Regions from separate parts of the Homo sapiens genome. Here region 1 is linked to region 2. The links are contacts of gene promoters, found by promoter capture Hi-C in blood cells and fetal thymus (Javierre and others, 2016). All regions are on one chromosome and are shown on one strand. The core of a region is centred on a gene start or on the middle of the fragment in contact, and the rest is flanking DNA. Distances in the headings are between cores, read along the strand shown. Region 1 overlaps TOB1 (transducer of ERBB2, 1). Region 2 holds the start of SPAG9 (sperm associated antigen 9).

The links. The method cuts DNA at HindIII sites, captures the fragments that hold promoters and counts their contacts. A CHiCAGO score of 5 or more calls a contact.
Region 1: a contact is called between a fragment that was not itself captured here and the fragment with the promoter of SPAG9 in region 2, in 14 of 17 cell types (neutrophils, fetal thymus, naive B cells and 11 more). The highest score is 15.3, in neutrophils.

The regions. Positions count from the first base shown.
Region 1 is chr17:50,858,895-50,865,090 of GRCh38, forward strand. It overlaps TOB1 (transducer of ERBB2, 1), which reads right to left. Exons shown (of 2, transcript NM_005749.4): 2 at 3,329-5,269. The coding sequence starts at 5,123. The coding sequence ends at 4,086. Among named protein-coding and RNA genes, the nearest start is that of TOB1, 4.4 kb to the right of the region's middle. RefSeq lists an enhancer at 6,076-6,125. The HindIII fragment of the contact is 4,656 bases long and covers 1-3,973 here.
Region 2 is chr17:51,115,488-51,122,192 of GRCh38, forward strand. SPAG9 (sperm associated antigen 9) reads right to left here and starts at 5,381. Exons shown (of 30, transcript NM_001130528.3): 1 at 4,867-5,381. The coding sequence starts at 5,169. RefSeq lists enhancers at 1,126-1,185, 4,894-5,013, 5,303-6,117, 5,634-5,863, 6,473-6,705 and 2 more and silencers at 4,634-4,763, 4,784-4,863, 5,114-5,493. The HindIII fragment of the contact is 3,961 bases long and covers 3,650-6,705 here.

The sequences.
Region 1 (6,196 bases), core at 396-2,895, 260 kb before region 2:
TATATGGGAACGAAATTTACACCCGATTGGAAAAACATTATTTTATTTTATTTTTTTGAGACTGAGTTTCGCTCTTCTCACCCAGGTTGGAAGGCAGTGGCACAATCTTGGCTCACTGCAACCTCCGCCTCCGGGTTCATGTGATTCTCCTGCCTCACCCTCCCAGCCTGTAGCTGGGACTACAGGTGCATGCCATCACACCTGGCTAATTTTGTGTTTTTAGTAGAGATGGGTTTCGCCATGTTGGCCAGGCTGGTCTCAAACTCCTGACCTCAAGTGATCCACCTGTCTCGGCCTCCCAAAGTGCTGGGATTACAGGTATGAGCCACAGCACCTGCCCTGGAAAAATATTTTAAACTCAGAGTACCTTTAGTTTCACCTTCAAAAGCTAAGTTAACTAATCACAGCATATATTGTTATCTTTAAGGAGGCATTTTGAAGAAGGCCTATATTTACATTTGCCATCTATTATAGGCGAAAAGGACATTTCACAATGTACCTGATTTCAGAAACGACAAGGCAGGGCAGAAAACGAATATACTAAACTTAGAAAGCCATTTTTTGGTATAATATTCCTTACTCATCCATGAGCTATGAAATCTGTAAGGCAACATTTTGGACACTCAGGGTATTCAGAGGCTGCTACAGTATCTGTAGTTATAGGAGTCAAAAAGATGGGAAAGGCCTGTGAAAATAACGAATTCATCAAATTGTCAACCGAAATGGTCTCCCCACAGAGAGTCAAAAGTGTGATGGCACCTTGGGGAGAAAATGACTTGGAACTAAGATGTAACCTTTTCTCAGATGTGCTAGGCAAAAGCACCTTTTAAAAAATTCCCATTCCTAATGAACAAAAAGGGCATGTAAACAGGGCCTTTGTTCATTTTTTAAAAAATTATGAAGTCCTCGCTGGATGCGTTGGCTCGCACCTGTAATCCCAGCATTTTGGGAGGCCAAAGCGGGAGGATCATGAGATCAGGCGATCGAGACCATTCTGGCCAACCCCGTCTCGTCTCTACTAAAACTATAAAAATTAGCTGGGCGTGGTGGCGCGCGTCTGTAGTCCCAGCTACTTGGGAGGTTGAGGCAGGAGAATCACTTGAACCCGACAGGCGGAGGTTGCAGGGAGCCAAGATTTCACCACTGCACTCCAGCCTGGCAACAGAGCGAGACTCTGTCTAAAAAAAAAAAAAGATGAAGTTCTCAAGGACACCAAGCTCAAGTTTTAATAAAACCAATCAAGATCACATTTTGAGTTAGTCATTCTCCGATGTCAAACATATGTACCAAGATGAAATTTCCCTAAGATTTTTGTCGATACATATATCCTTAAGATCTGAAACAGATATTCAGGCTTATGTTAACCTCAGTATTTAAAATCTGAATATATTAGTGCTTGGCTGGGTGTGGTGGCTCACGCCTGTAATCTCAGCATTTTGGGAGGCCAATGCGGGCGGATCACCTTAGTTCAGGAGTTTGAGACCAGCCCAGGCAACGTGGCGAAACCCTGCCTCTACAAAAAATACAAAAATTAGCAGGGAACGGTGGCACGCAGCTATAATCCCAGCTATTCAGGAGAGTGAGACAGGAGAATCGCTTTAGTGGAGGTTGCAGTAAGCCAAGATGGCCCCTTTGCACTCCAGCCTGGGTGACAGAGTGAGACCTTGTCTCAAAATAAAATGAATATATTAGTGCTCCAGACAGTTTCAAATTCTATTGTTGACCAGGCGCAATGGCTCATGCCTGTAATCAGAGCACTTTGGGAAGCCAAGGCAGGCAGCTCATTTGAGGCCAGGAGTTCGAGACCAGCCTGGTCAACATGGTGAAACCCCGTCTCTACTAAAAATACAAAAATTAGCCAACATGGTGGCGGGCGCCTGTAGTCTCAGCTACTCGGGAAGTTGAGGCAGGAGAATCACTTGAACCTGGGAGGTGGAAGGTTGCAGTGAGCCGAGATGGTGCCACTGCACTCCAGCCTGGGTGACAGAGCAAGAGACTCCGTCTCAAAAAAAAAAAAAATTCTATTATGTTCCGTCCAGCTGCCTTATGATTTTCAGAAAAAGCACATTACACTTGAGCCTTCATTTATAAGTAGAGTTTTCTCCCAAATGTAACTTTATCAGTCTGTAGCAGAAACTAGTGCTTAAAGCCATTATCCTGATGGTTCTTACAGCTATTCAAACTTCGTGATCACAAAAGCATGTAAGTGGTAAGTGTTGGCAGACCAGATCTCTGCTGCTTGCACCCATTATTCCAATACTTCTTCATAGCCTCGTTCTGTTCCCTAAAGAACAAAAGCCTCACCATGGAGCTGACAAACAGCTTAGCTCTGTTATTTCCAGTGCTTGTTTCCTTAAAACTTTGTATTGCTCTACACTGCATGGGTAAATGACAAAAGGCTTTTGTAGACTGGTGTCCAAAAAGCTCATGAGACCAAATTTATTTCACTGGTAACCCAGGCAGTGCTGGTTTCTTACTATAAAAGTACATATAAAGTTTTTTAAGACAGCTTTCTCACCAATACTATGTCAACACTGTATCAAATGGACGTTAACTTTCTCACCAATACTATGTCAATACTGTATCAATTGACATTTAGTGAAATGACTCATTTAGTGTTCTTCTCCCCAACTCTTCAGTTTTAAAAAACTCCATCCTCACCAAGCCACTCCAATTTGATACATTGTCAATATCTCTAAATCCTTCAAACCAGCAGGTTGGGTACCCACTTGCAAAAAATTAAATACATAAGCGTTTTTGCTGGGAAAATGAAAATGCTAACATCTAACCATCTGTCCAGCCGTGAATAGATTTTGACCATAAGTTCTCTAGCTATATGCAATAGCTAAACTTTAAAGATTAGTAAAGTGATGTAAATTTTTCTAAGTTCAGTCAGCCGTTTTGTCCAAGCAAGTTTCCTCAGCAAAAACAGAAAACTGATCCAATGCTCTCTCCATATAAATTTCAAATAAATCATCTCAGATTACACGAAGGAATTTCATCTTATCACCTGACTCCTCCATGTCAGCATGACATTTTGAAACTTGCTGTATAGCTAACCTTACCATACCATCTCTATAATGGGGTAGACAAATGTGGACTGAAGAGGGCTGTTAAAAAATAAAGTTGTACCAAGCACTGGTCAGGCTATAGTTTTGATAGCATTTTTTATGTGGCAAACCACGATCTGGTACATCAGTAGAGCAACTGCTTTCCATTATTCCTTCGTGACTCAATGAGTCAGGCCTTTTTCCATCATTAGCATTTACAACATAATAACTCCAGAGGTCGATCTTCAGAAAACACTTAAAAACAAAGACAATAGGCATTTTTAATTTTAAAGAATTTTAATACAAACTTAATATAAACTATTTCAGTCCCTCTTAACATGTAAGACACTGACTCAAAATACTTTTATACCGTTTTTTTCAAGTATTGCACAATATAGGTACAAAATTAATATTTACGATTACATTTTTCTTCCATAATATATAGCAAAAATCTTTAAACTTTTAACAGAAAATACATTTTTTTGAAAAAGCAAGTATTCGTACATTTTAATTCCACCACTAAAGGAATATCCTGTACACAATTTTTAGAATAGTTGATGTCTTTAAGATGGATATTTTACAATTTCAGTAAAAAAAATACAACATGAAGCTGCTGCTGTCACAGATCACTGTAGTAAAAAGATATAAATGCAATACCATGTCGTAGAAACAATATATATATATCCTCTGATATTTTACAAACTTTGTACTAAATTAAATTATACAATTAGAAAAGACCAATAAACCCACTTATTAGTGCCAATTTTTATAAAAAAAAATCAGCCATGTCCTTGCTATATCTTAAATACTGTAAGAGGCCATATCTGAGAGTATACTTTAAAATATACAGTCAGTATAAAATAACTTTGTGCTTGGTTGGCAAATGAAAAATGATGCATGTTTTATTATTATTTTTTTAACCAAGCTTGAATGTATCCTTACTATAAGCTTAAAAAAAAAAATTCTCAAGGAGGTGAAAAAAAAAATCCCCCTTGGGCCCGTGCATTTTAACTTGTACGATACATTTTCTTTTTTTTAGTTAGCCATAACAGGCTGGAATTGCTGGTTAGAATACTGCATGTTATTTAAGCTAAAATTCAAGCCATCTACAAAAGATTTCTCATTGAGGCCTCCATAGGCTGCAAACACATCAAAGGCATTACTGTACTGGAGAGGACTGAGGTTAAGGGGGCTGTCACCTGGGAACATTCCATTGGTACTACTACCTTGACCCTGCATATTAGGAAAAATAAATTCCTTGGCATTAGGAGAAAGAGCAGAGGTTTTCTGCTGTTGTTGCTGCTGTGGTGGTGGTGGTGGCGGTGGCGGCTGGGCTGGCTGCTGCTGTTGCTGTGGCTGCTGCTGGCTACCCAAGCCAAGCCCATACAGAGAGTGCATTGAGGAAGAGATGGCTTTCTGCTTCAAGAGGTCATTCACATTCAAGCCGAGGTTGATGGGAGAAGTACGTGCAACCTTGTTGCTACGGCCACTATTCTTCATTTTGGTAGAGCCGAACTTGGTGGCAGCAAAAGTGGCAGTGGTAAAGGTTAAAGGCTGAGTGGACCGGGGCATGAAGGTAGGGCTTACAGCAGCAGAGTGACCAAAAGGAGGCGATGGAGAGCTGGACACTGATGAGGCTGGGTCACTTATGGGCATAAAAACCTGGGCCTCTGGGTTAAAGCTGTTTTTGATCTCCTTATCCAACTCACATCCATTTTCATTATTATCATCCACGTAAAGCACCTTCACTGGTCCCTTTTCACCAATTTGGTAAGAAACCTCAAATGGGTCGATCCAAACACTAAGATCCTGTGGCAGATTGCCACGAACATCATCAATGTCCAAACCACTCTCTTTGGATGCTTGTTCAATCACTGGGTCCACTTTCTCCCCTATGTGTATACATCTAAACCCCGATCCTTTGTATGGCTTTTCAGGATACCAGTGCCCTTCATATTTCTTCTTAAGAAGTCTTTCAAGTTCTTCACCAAAAATGTTGACACGTCTCCTGGGAAGCTTATTGTACAAATACGAAATAATAAAATTTAGTGCTACTTGGATTTCAAGCTGCATAGCTGCTACGCCACAAAATTAGGTTTCAACTCCCCCACCAAAAAAAAAAAAAAAAAAAAAAGATGTTCAGTTTGTGGCAGAGAAACAAATTTTCATTCAAAGTGCTGGTATTAGTAGATTATCCTTCACCTTGAGTGATCTTGTTCCTTAAAACAAAAGCAAACATATCCAAATAAGATAAATGTAATATAAGTCCCATGACCTTCCCCCCTCCAAAGTAATTTCACCTTTCAAAATGTCTAAGATCCTGTGTTAGTCTGCTAAGGATAAAAAGAAAAAGAAAATGTCTACTAGGACAGAAAGCCTGAAAACTGTTACTAGCACAAAATAAACATAAAATAGAAAATCGTTTATTAAAGTTTAAAATGACACAGGAAAATGTAGATTTACAAATGAAATAATGCTTTTAAAAACCTGTTTCTGAATAGAGTTCTAAGAAGAAAAATCTCTAGAACATGCATTCTTCTCTCCTCAGTTCTCACAAGAATATTTATTGTACTCAGCATCCTCCCCCCACCCCCATATATATAGATGCCACTTTTAGGTAGTAATTTTTATTGTTATTCACCAACTTAGAAGTGAATCCATGTTTTAGTTTACTTTGGATATATACTGTTTAAATCTGCTCTGTCACTGACATTTAAAAATTTGGTTACGTTAGGAAGATCATTTTAATTTCCATAGTACATGATGCTAAAATTAAAGACACTGAGTACTAAATGAACTTCATCCTAGTAAATAATTATGAACCAAATTATTCTATATAGTTTCGGCCTTAAGTATACTAAGAGCATACAATATAATAAAATCCAGCTTCTCTGGGCCTTTTGTTTTCAATGTGTATTTTTCTAAATCTGAAAATACCTATTCGGCAGCAAGTATAACAAAAGCAAAGACACAAATTAAAACTATTGATTATTCTGTTTAAGGCCAGGGTTTCTGAGTTTTAGTCTGATTTTAAAAAACCTCCGTCTGTCCCTCTCTCCCTCCCTCCCTCTCACGGTAACAGCCGGAGAGGCAAGTATGGTAAGGTCGACCTTTAAACGTTTGCTGGATCAGCACTGGGTGGGGAT
Region 2 (6,705 bases), core at 4,131-6,630:
AGATATTCTCTCTTCAGTCCATTCTCTGCATGTATGAGTCTATCTCAAAAAGGAGGGAAGGAGCCAGGCGCGGTGGTTCACAGTGGCAATCCCAGCACTTTAGGAGGCCAAGGCGGGCGGATCACCTGAGGTCAGGAGTTCAAGACCAGCCTGACCAACATGCAGAAACCCCAACTCCACTAAAAATACAAAATTAGCCAGGCGTGGTGGCGCATGCCTGTAATCCCAGCTACTTGAGAGGCTGAGGCAGGAGAACTGTTTGAACCCAGGAGGCGAAGGTTGCAGTGAGCCGAGATGGCACCATTGCACTCTAGCCTGGGCAACAAGAGAAACTCCATCTCAAAAAAAAAGAAAAGAAAAGAAAAGAAAAGAAAAAGAAAAGGAAGGAAGACAATGCCTCTTCGTTTTTATGTGTAATCTCCCTCTACTGAATGATGCTAAATGAGCTCTCACTTTGAGAATAACAGTGATAACATAAAAGACCCACAGAATCACTAAGAACTAAATTCCTAAAGGTTCTTTAAACTCGTATGTCTACTTTTCAGAAGTTTCTTTTTTTTTTCTTTTTTCTTTTTTGAGAGGTAGTCTCACTCTACTGCCCAGGCTGGAGTACAGAGGCACGATCCCAGCTCACTGCAACCTCCATCTCCCGGGTTCAAGCAATTCTTCTGCATCAGCCTCCCCAGTAGCTGGGATTACAGGCACCCACCACCACACCCAGATAATTTTTGTATTTTTAGTACAGACAGGGTTTCATCATGTTGGCGAGGCTGGTCCCACACTCCTGACCTCAAGTGATCCATCTGCCTCGGCCTCCCAAAGTGCTGGGACTATAGATGTGAGCCACCACACCTGGCCCTTTTTTAAAAGTTACAGCAAATCATGCCTGTTTTAAAAGAATCAGAAGTTGCAGAAAAACCCTAACATACCCAGTTATAACCTCTCTCTCCAGATCATTTTGTATCCAGATTTTTATTTTAAAAAATCACTGGGCTGGGGCACAGTGGCTCACCCCTGTAAGTCCCAACACTTTGGCAGGATCCACAAGGCAGGAGGATCACTTGAGCCCAGGAGTTCCAGACCAGACTGGGCAACACAGTGAGACCTTGTCTCTGTAAAAAATTTAATTAGCCCAGTGTGGTAACGCATGTCTGTGGTCCTAGCTACTCAGGAGGCTGAGGCAAGAGGATCACTTGAGCCCAAGAGATTGAGGCTGCAGTGAACTGTGACTGTGCCACTACACCCCAGCCTAGGCGATTGAGACTCTGTCTCCAAAAAGAATTTAAATTTAAAAGTCACTGATTTTAAAATAAATTATTCAATAGGTTCACAGGGCTTATTCTGGATAGAGTCAACAGGATGTTCTGGCTGAAAAAGTGAAATTGAAACAGAGTAGAAAGTGAGGAGCTAGCTATGTAAAATTCTAAGGAGAGCATTCTAGAGCATGGGCAAAGGCATCAGACGGGTCTTGGTTAAAGAATGGAGAGGTGTGTCACAGGCAGCCCAAAGGAGAGAGTGATGGGCGATAAGATGACAGATTTCTTGATTAGCATCTGAAACCGGTCCAAATCTATCTAAAATTAGCCCTTCTTTAGGTTGTTTTTAAAGAATCCCTAAAACAGCAGACTAGCTCCACACTAGAAATTCAAATAAAAGCAAAGGAAAAAGTCAGAAGGTATTCAAAATATGTCCTATCAATATAAAGATTAAATTTTTGATGCCTTGCTGAGAATTCCTGCAAGCAAGAGATCATAGCACCTCACACATTCCTAAAACATTCTATCTACATACCCACCTAAGTTTCCACAGAGGTGCTCAGAATTTACTTTACTCTCTCTGGTGATGGATAATTTCCATGCTTTCAAATCACTTTTGCTGTAAATACCCTGAGGCACTTACTTTGGTATAAAAGACTCTTGGTCTCCGCATTAAAGACACAAACAGGCCGGCACGGTGGCTCATGCCTGTAATCCCAGCACTTTGGGAGGCTGAGGCGGGCAGATCACGAGGTCAGGAGATTGAGACTATCCTGGCTAAAATGGTGAAACCCCGTCTCTACCAAAAATACAAAAAAATTAGCCAGGCGTGGTGGCACGTGCTTGTAATCCCAGCTACTCAAGAGGCTGAGGCAGAATCGCTTGAACCCGGGAGGCGGAGGCTGCAGTGAGTCAAGATTGTGCCACTGCACTCCAGCCTGGGTGACAGAGCAAGACTCCGTCTCAAAAAAAAAAAAAAAAAAAAAAAAGGCGCAAACAAAGCACTCACAGAAAACTAAACACAGAATTCACTCTACATATTGGCCAAAGGGAGACAATTTCTGGATACTGAGCAACACACAATTTATGATCTTATGTGAAAACTGATGGCCGGGTGTGGTGGCTCACATCTGTAATCCCAGTACTTTGGGAGGCTGAGGCGAGTGGATTGCCTGAGCTCAGGAGTTCAAGACCAGCCTGGGCAACAAGGTGAAACCCCGTCTCTACTAAAATACAAAATATATATACATATTAGCTGGGCGGGGTGGCACGTGCCTATAGTCCCAGCTACTCGGGCGGCTGAGGCAGAAGAATTGCTTGAACCCGGGAGGCAGTGAGCCGAGATCGTGCCACTGCACTCCAGCCTGGCGACAGAGAGAGACTCTGTCTCAAAAAAAAAAAAAAAGAGAAAAGAAAACTGATAACAAGGTGTGTTTATGTTTGTGGCCTGGGAGTGGGCTCATTTAGCATTTCATAAATGTTCTCTGTTCTCAGGTCATGACCCTTTGCCCAATGGTTTCACTATGGAGAATTTACAGATGTAACTGAAAAAATATAAACTACAAATAAATTCATTGGATAACCTATTTTTTTTAGAGTCATTTACTCAAGAAATTAATAGGGAACCCAGAGTCTAGCAGTCGGGCAATTTTGTTTTCTGATTCTGCAACCTGTGGCAGATGGTTTTCTTGGCACGTGTGACCCTGGCATTTTGCCCATATTTACACGGACTGACAGGAGTTTAAGGCTGGAGGGAGCATTTATTTTACGTGAGGTAAAAGGTCATGTCAGGCTTGCTTGTCACCTGTGTGTACATGTGGTTAATTCCCAGTCACTTCCATGTATATCCACACACTGGCAAGGGGCTATATGAGCATGAAGCAGCAAGTAGCACTTGACCTCTGTTCTATAAAGAGTGCTAACAAACAAGCGGAAATTGTGATCCTATCATTATTTGGTTTTTCATCCCTTCCTTCCCTATATGAAAGGAAAAGCTCTTGAAATAGTCCATTCTGGCGGGGTGCGGTGGCTCATGCCTGTAATCCCAGCACTGGGATGGTCAGCCCGAGGCCAAAGTGGGCAGATCACTTGAGGCCAGGAGTTCAAGACCATCCTAGGCACCATGGAGAAATCCTGTCTCTACAAAAAACAAAAATGAGCGGGGAGTGTTGTCCTAGCTCCTTAGGAAGCTGAGGCACAAGAATCGCTTGAACCCGGCAGGCAGAGGTTGCAGTGAGCCAAGATCACTCCACTGCACTTCACCCTGGGCGACAGAGTGAGACTACGTCTCAAAAAAAAAAAAAAAAAAAGGCAATTTTGTTTGGCAAATTCAATAGCATTCCTTTGAGAAAATTGGATCCCACAATCAGAACTAAAAATCATCACTACAGTCAAGCTTTTAAAAAAGGAAAAAGAACTATTTAACCAGATGCAAAGGTATACGTGACAAAATAAAACAAAAATTTAATGGTGTTACTATTCAGTGTCAGGAAATGAGCTACAAACCTCACATCCTAAAAACTCTTCAAGTCTTTTTGAAAAATACTATGTCATTCCTTCAATAATTAGTTATTTCGCCTCCTTTGATCACCATGTATTTAAGCAGGTGTGCTAGGTGCTTGAGAAACAAAAATAGGACACATCACCTGCCTTTGATAAGGTCCACAGAAATAACGCCAACGCAGGCTGAAAGCTAAACTCCTTGTCAGTCTCAAGAAGCCAAGGACCTATCACTTGCACCCTAGAACTCCAAAAGGTTCACAGAGTCGAGGTGAGGGCGCCCAGGTCACTGCTCGGGTGCTAGAGTTAACAGGTGGCCAAATGCACGTATAAACAGCAGTCTAAGAAGGAAACTCAGACGGAAAAAGTGTTGCCAACTGTCACCTACATCTTCCCAACCCCGCCCCCCAATCCTTTTTATAAATAAACGGAGGGTTTTTGAAGGGAACTGTCCAAGGTTACAACCTGATACGGAGGAATGCTTTGGTTTGGGATACCAACGAAATTGTTTATATATTTATTGAGTACTGCCACACAACATCTAAAAGTTGACAAAGTGTCAACCAAGGCACATAGAACATAAAATAAGACGTCTTTCTCAACAAGATTAAAACGTCAAGAAGAAACTGACCGAAAGAGGGAGATCTCTAACTTCCCAAAGCAAGGCAACCCCCTGGAAAGGTACTGGAACTAGCGGAAGTTACATATCCAGGGCAGAAGTGTCCCCCTCCCCAAGGGTAAAACTTTGAACCGCCATCTGACTATCCCACGGTGGTCGGAAACTTCCCTCAACAAGAAGCAACCAGACACCCAACAATCTCCGCCCTTGGCCAACCCCAGGTGTCCTCAGGCCAGGCTGCCGCTTCCTCCCCGGGCCCTGCCTCCTCCATCTCGCTCCCTTCCCAGGACACTCAGTAGCCGGCCTCGGCTTCCAACGCCGGCCTGGCTCCCGGGGTACCTGGAGGCCGCCGGGATCGGTCCCAGGGGGCATCGGCCTCAGGCCCGCCCTCCAGGAGGCCCGTCGCGCCTCTAGTCCCCGACCGGGCCGCGACCCCGCCCCGGCCGCCCCCGGAGACGGATCCCGCGGCCCCCGCCCTGCCGCCGGCCTCACCTCCTCAGCGTGCTTGCGCAGCGCCTTCTCCCGCTCGTACTGGGTGATGAGCTGCTCGTTGTCGTCCCGCAGCAGCTCCAGCTCCACCTGGTGCTCCTGGTCCTGCGCGAACACCGAGTCCAGGTTCTCCAGCACAGCCACCACCAGCGGCATCAGCTCTTTGACCACCTCCTCGTCATAGCGCCCGATAAGCCGCTCGAACTCGCGGTAGATGGAGCCGGCCAGGCCGGACACCCGCTCCGACATCACGGCCCCGGAGCCGCCGGGCTCCTCCTGATACACCACACCGTCCTCCAGCTCCATGGTGGCAAGCGGACGGGCGGGCGGCCCGGGGCGTCGCCGGCAGAGGGGCGGCACCTGCCCGCACGGGACGGACCCGACTCGGGCTGGGACGGGTACTAGGGCTGGAGCCCGGGCCGGGGCTGGGGCTGGGCCCGGCGGGGTGGGGGCCGGGGCCGGAGGAGGGGAGGGGTGGCGTAGGCGCTCTCACCCCAACCGCCGCTGCACCAACTGCCGGGGCGGCCCGGCCGCGCGCGCCACACGTCATCCGCGGGGCGGGGCCGGCGCCGCGTCGGCCCGATGGGCGGGGCGCCGCGGGAGGCCAGGCGCGGCCGGGGGCGGGGCCAAGCGTCTTCGGGCGCTGGCGGAGGAAGCCATGGCGTCAACACCCGGCGCCGCGAAGACGGTGCGGGCGCCAATGGGAAAGACTGCGGTCGGCGGGTGGGGAGAAGTATCCATCCACAGCGGGATTCGCGGGGCGGGTCCCAGGGGAAAGGGAGGGGTTCGGGAAGAGTGACGAGTTAACTTAGCTGGCATTTCTATGGCTTTTTAAAGCTCACAAAGCACCTACTCACTTCATCCCCACAACAGGCGTAAAGAGGTAGATATTTGGACCTCGTTTCACAGACAAAGAAACTAGGCCCAGGAAAGTGGCGTTGCTCTCAAGGTCACGCAGCTACAACGGGAAACGGGCTGAGCCGGGACTCAAACCAATTACCCAGATTGAGAATTCCGGGCTCCGAAAAAAACTGGAAACAGAAAGGGAGGGAAAAAAAACCATAACCAGGGTCTGCCCAAGTGGAAAGGTGGTCTCGAATAGAATAGAACTGTTTTGTGCTATGGAAGAGCAAGGGTGAGATGAGGGGAAATGGGAGTGACTGCTAATAGGTATGGGATTTCGTTTTGGGATAATAAAAATGTTCTAAAAAATGTATTATAGTGATGAATACACAACTCTAAATATGCTAAAAGACATTCAACTTTACACGTTAAGTGAGTGAATCATATGGCGTGTGAATTATATCTCAAGTTATTAAAAAATAAACAGGAAGGGTGATAGCATTCTGGAGAAGGGTGAAACTGGAACGTTACATGTGGCACTTTCCCACATAGTGTGTCTGCTACTTCTGGCCAACTTGGGACGGGGACATTTCCAGGCTCCAGCCACCCTCCTCTCCTCAAGTCTTGAAGTGGGGCGGAAAGGGTAAGTGGGAGGTTGGGGAACAGAGGAGGTAAGGGGTGGAGTCACTGGAGTGAATAAGTCCCATGACAAGTGAGGTTTCTGCCGCCTGGGAGAGTGTCACGTGTGGGGAATGACACAACGCCCACGCCTAGAGCGGGCTGAGTCAAGGATCCCGGTGTGCTCATCTAACGTCCGCAAATGGGACGGAAGACACTCTCAAAAGTCCCTTCTCTGTGTCTCAGGTGACTCAGCTCTCCGTCCCGACTCGTTTAAGAAAAGGGGGAGGAAAGGCAGGATAAACATAGGTTTAAGGGGAGAATTGGCCACCCACCGGGATCATAACTACCCTTAGCTTGGGGTTTACAAGTTTAAGTACT